Regions from separate parts of the Homo sapiens genome. Here region 2 is linked to region 1. Evidence: promoter capture Hi-C in human tissues and cell types (Jung and others, 2019). All regions are on one chromosome and are shown on one strand. Each heading gives the region's core, a stretch centred on a gene start or on the middle of the fragment in contact. The rest is flanking DNA. Distances are from core to core; before and after follow the strand shown.

Region 1 (2,700 bases), core at 107-2,606:
GATTAGGGATTTGGTCCTCTCTTTGCTAGAGTGGTTCGCCATACTTTAAATTCCCCAGTTATGACCTACGCGGATTTAGGATTAAGGAAAATGTGACTTTTAAATTGTTTCTGCTTCCCAGTTTGCAGGATTATTTGAAATAGCTAGAAACGGGGTGCAAAGCATTCCATTCAAAATCCGCTTTGCACAGAGTTGCTTTTGCGCGCTGGAGCTCGGAGTTTTGAGCGAGTGTGTTATTGTGCTACCGCCTGGAGCTGCGGCCCAGTTCCCGCCCCCATGGCCCCCCCATCCAGCACCTGGCGGCTAAATGGAGACAACTCATCCGACTGGTGGGCTGCGCGGGTCGTAACCTTCTCACCGCACCAGACAGGGGGGATCAAGCAATCCAGAGGCAACGAAACGGCTCTCCCCTCTCCACGAAATGCTCCAACTCACGGTCTACAGGTCTGGGCCGAACGCACACGCCCGCTGGAATCCCTCTCAGGGGCTCAGATTCGCAGCGCTCCAGGCAGGACCTCCCCCAGCCTCCCCGCTCGCTCGCCCCAGGCTGCGCGCCTAGGCCCCACGGCGGCCCGAGAGGTACCCACTTGTTGATCCGGCTGGCTTGCTCATGCTGGCTGTCCCGGGGCGGAGCGGTTGGTGGGCGCTGCCCGAGTCCCGGCCGGCAGCGCCCGCCTCGCCGCCGGGCGCCGCCGCTCTCCAGCTGCCCTCCAGCCTGCAAGGCTCCTGGGCGGGACAGGTGGGTGTCAGTCGCGCGCTGCGCTGCTCCCTGGGCGCTCAGAATTCGTCCAACAGTGGAAATTTAAGCATCCTTAAGTTTCTTCCCGGCTCTTGCAAAACCGCAGCTGCTGGGAATGCTGCTTGATATGGACACACACATGGACAGACAGATGGAGAGATGGACAGGAAGACTGAGGAAGAAGGAAGAACAGCAAGAGAGGGATGTTGAAAGACAGAGATGGAGACACGAAAATGGCCTTCCTACGGAGCGAAATCCCTCTTTTTCCCCATTCCTGTCACTCAGTCTTCGATCTCTCCCTCTACATAGGCATGCAGAGTGTGGGCAATCTCTGCCGACCGCTGGTCTCCCAAGGAAAGAAGGAAAACACTACCGCAGTCTCAGAGGCAGACGGGCTCCGCGCTGCCGGAACCCAAGCGCAGAGTGGGAAAACTAGATTGCTGGGAAATCTTCCGAGGGAAGAGGCGGCCAGGTCCGGGTTTCCGGGGAGAGCCGCGCACGCAGCGGCGAAGGGTCCCCGAAGTTCATTACCCCGTGACTTTGTGCCTGTCGCTGCGGGCTGGGTCCCCTGTAATATCTCCAGAAGCGCTCTGACAGGCAGCCGCGGGGAGGGGAATAGGGCGTCCCTGGCCCACTTAGCTTTTCCCCCAACTCCTGGCGGGGTCTGACGTCAGCCATGTGCGGGGAGGGGATGGGAAGAGGGAGGGGGTTAAATGCTAATGATATTAATGAACCTCCAAGCGGCTCCCAAAGAAAATGCAGGCGCTGTCGGAGCTTACGAGTTAGAAAGTGTGAATATGGGAGTGTGGCTCTGTGCGTGCGTGATGGTGAGGACGGTGCGGCTCGTAATAAAAATGAATTCGTATATTTCACGGCAAGAAGGAAGGGGAGGGGTGACGGGGCTTTCTCAAAACGCTTTTCCCCCTCTCTCCAGAGTGCCAGATAGATTCGCGGAAGAAATTGGGTGGCTGTGTGCTGGCGTGTGATTGTGCGCGCCGGACATGGCCATGTGAGTTGGTTCATTCTTGGTCCGGTGCCCCTTCTGTTGGGTAAAACTTGGATCTGGCCCGAGGTGAGTAATTTACTCATTTTGCACATATCTACGGAAAGTCAGGGCTGAGGATGGGGTCTTCTGGAGGTTCCGCGTTCCTTCGGCCTTCGCGCAGTGGGTTTGGGCACCAGCCGAGGGGAGGATGCCGCCAGCTTCCCCAAGCAGAGCTGGCCCATCCGACGCTGAGCGAATCTCTTGTCGCCTCCATTATCTGCACCGGGGCGGCTGGAGGGCAGAGCGTTCCCTCCCGCCGCTCGTCCTCGGCGGGCGTTGCGGGCTCCCGCTCTCCGGGCGGAGGAATAGTGAAGAGAGGCCCTCATCCCCTACCCCCTCCCCATTCCGCTTGCCTTCCCGCGATTCCTGAGCTCTCTCGCGCCTTGCTCTGTGCGCGGCGCTGGGAGAGCGCATGCCGAGGGAGCGATGATCCCCGATCTCTAAGAGATTAATTCTATTTAAGCTCTCTCGGCAGCTTGAACTTGTCGAACAAGAGCTTGCCAGTCCCTCCTCAGGGCGTGGACCCGGCCAGAGGTCAGAGGTTACACCTCCCGCCCTCCGCTCGACGTTCGCGGGGAGGGGAGCTGTGGCCGGCGCTCTGCAATTCCGCCAGCCCACCCCCCGGTCCCTCTTTCTCCAGACTCGGTGTCATCCCGGGCTTTCAATCAGAGTTCGCCTGTGCGTGCAAGTGAATGCTGGAGTCCCCCGAGCCCTGGGAGGGCGCAGCAGGTCCTCCGCCTGGGCGTCCCAGGGGGAGCGGGCTGTGCGCTCCAGTGGGCTCCGACAGCACGTGATTGCAACTTTCTGCCCAGCCTTGGCTCGGCCTCGAGCTCGGGGTCTCGCACACCACACACACCAGAGCCTGTGTCCTCCTTAGTGGGGCGCCGCGACCAAGGCTGGGGTCCCGGGGAAAGAG
Region 2 (2,700 bases), core at 32-2,531, 190 kb after region 1:
AGTGGGGCAGGGGGATGATTTCTGTGATGTTCCACCCAGGAGAGCAGCTAGAAGCATCCTGTAAGAGATGGAAAACAGATGGGCTGAGAGTGTGTTCTAGAAACATGGCAAGACCACACATATTTTAAAAGAAAATAAACCAGGCTGGGCACAGTGCCTCATGCCCATAATCCCAGCACTTTGGGAGGCTGAGGTGGGCAAATAGCTTGAGCCCAGGAGTTTGAGACAAGACTGGGAAGCATGGCGAAACCCCATCACTACAGAAAATAACAACAACAACAACAAAATTAGTCGTGCCTGGTGGTGTGGGCCTGTGGTCCCAGCTACTTGGGAGGCTGAGGAGGGAGAATCACCTGAGCCCAGGAAGTTGAGGCTTCAGTGGGCTGTGATCACACCACTGCACTCCAGCCTGGACCACAGAACGAGACCCTGTCTCAAAAACAAAGCAAAACGAAACACCCCTAGCAATCAGTTCTTCCTCAGTATCCTCCTCCCATGCCACTTTCTCCAGCTGTCATTCCTGTTCCTTCCCTTCCGCTGAGCACCTTCGTTCCTCCCTGTCTTTCCTTCCCCTTCTTACCTGACAAACTGGTTTCTCTACTCTTGATAAAGTCATCCATTGGTGGCATGTGTGTTCCAAAAATCTACTAGACCAGCATTTCCCAAGTGTGTTTTTGCAAAACACTAAACCCTTGTTGACTAGGCATGTTGGCTGACCCCTGTAATCCCAGCACTTTGGGAGGTCAAGGTGGGAGGATCCCTTGAGCTCAGGAGTTCAAGACCAACCTGGGCAACATAGTGAGACCCTGACTCTACCAAAGGGGAAAAAAAAATAAAGAAAAAAATAATAATTAAAAAAAAACTCTTGTTTTGCTTATTCTGTTAAAAAAAAAAAAAAAAAGGGAGGCAGTGGTCAAATAATTTGGTAAACCTCACATCCTGTACTGCATCTTAAAGATTCACATGCCTGTTAATATATAAAGGATTTTTGGGTGTACTTCAATCCCTTCTCTTTCTCTTATTCTCTCTCTGCCTGATTCCAATTTAGGACCCTTCATCTGATACCTGCAGGTGAGGGATGGGTCACAGCAGCTGTAACACCATATAAATGACAGCCCCACAGTTCTCTTGCTCACTTATTTCTTAGGTTCATCTATTGGAGATGGGACCCTATGGGAACTGAATAGCTCAGCTTCAAAATGCATTTCAAAACTTTTTCCCCCCTTTTTCTCTTTTCTCTCCAGTCTCAAGATGTAACCTTGAAGCCTACTGCAGAAACCCTTTTTTCCTCCTTAGTATTAGGACGTAGCCTTGAAATGTACTTTATTTGAAACACCGCGTCTCTCCCTTTCTTACCATACACTCCCTTACACCATGCACATTTATCTAATTGTACTTGGATCTAATTATGTGCTTACTTAGAAGTTCCAGGGTCTAATCTTGACATAAACCAGACATGGAGGCCCAGCTGCAAAATGCCAGAGATTACCTCAAGGCTGTTAGTCTACAACCCGGCCATCGTTCAGATGACATCAGATCACCCTGACAGTCACCAGGGAAACAAGAGACACAGACCTTGAACTCAGCACCACTCCTGCATACTTCCCATTCCAAGTTCCCCTTTTTAAGTCCCTCTCCCTAGCCTAAAGTTGGGAATGGTCTTTTAAAGGCATGAGCCTGGCTATTCCCCAACTTCTAGCATTTGAATAAAGTTGCTTTCCTTTCACCACACCTCGCTTCTTGTGCTTTTGACCTCTGAGCGGCGAGCAGCAGGACTTGAGCTGGTTACACTGCATCTGAAGCACCCTGGGCTGCCCTCATCACTACTGTTGTAACTCATGTTCTGCAGGAACTGAGAGCCTGAGCAAATGAACCTGAAATTCAGTTTTTTCTTCCTTTTTGGTCCTCCTTACCCCCTTCTATTATATGAATGATATAGTCATAGAATTTGCCTATAAAATCCAGAAAACTTAGTTCCAGCCTATCAAAGTCACCCAGTTATGGGATTAAGATGATAATGATGGAGCAACTTTGTAAAGGGCTTTGAAGATCAGACTGAGACTCAGATATTCCTGGAGAGTGGAGGCTGGTAACCCCCTTTACCTTGTAGCTATTTGCATTCACTGATTTGCAACAGAATTAAGGAGCCCTCTGAATAAAATACTTGAACACTGTCCACGATTAGGATTAAGACATATACAGACATATCTGATTGACTAGGGGCCCCAAGTGGAAGCTAGATGTTTGGAGAATGAAATGGTCAGTATGAGGAATCTGGTGCAGGGAATAGAATAGTGAGTGGACACAAAGCTGAACATGCAGCTGGGAGAGGCGGCTCACGCCTGTAATCCCAACACTTTGGGAGGCCAAGGTAGGAGGATCACTTGAGGTCAGGAGTTTGAGAGCAGCCTGGCTAACGTGGTGAAACCCCATCTCTACTAAAAATACAAAAATTAGGCCGGGCGTGGTGGCTCATGCCTGTAATCCCAGCACTTTGGGAGGCCGAGGCGGGCAGATCACGAGGTCAGGAGATCGAGACCATCCTGGCTAACATGGTGAAACCCCATCTCTACTAAAAATTCAAAAAATTAGCTGGGTGTGGTGGCGGGCACCTGTAGTCCCAGCTGCTGGGGAGGCTGAGGCAGGAGAATGGCGTGAACCCGGGAGGCGGAGCTTGCAGTGAGCCGAGATCGCGCCACT

Evidence for each region. The method cuts DNA at HindIII sites, captures the fragments that hold promoters and counts their contacts. A contact is called where the count stands out against the background at its distance.
Region 2: a fragment that was not itself captured here is called in contact with the fragment with the promoter of NR2E1 in region 1 in 1 of the 25 tissues and cell types used here (thymus).

What each region holds. Positions count from the first base shown.
Region 1 is chr6:108,164,678-108,167,377 of GRCh38, reverse strand. NR2E1 (nuclear receptor subfamily 2 group E member 1) reads right to left here and starts at 1,356. Exons shown (of 9, transcript NM_003269.5): 1 at 588-1,356. The coding sequence starts at 612. RefSeq lists enhancers at 1-511, 1,412-2,313. The HindIII fragment of the contact is 11,535 bases long and covers 1-2,700 here.
Region 2 is chr6:107,971,686-107,974,385 of GRCh38, reverse strand. No RefSeq gene overlaps it. Among named protein-coding and RNA genes, the nearest start is that of SEC63, 15 kb to the right of the region's middle. The HindIII fragment of the contact is 4,193 bases long and covers 1-2,700 here.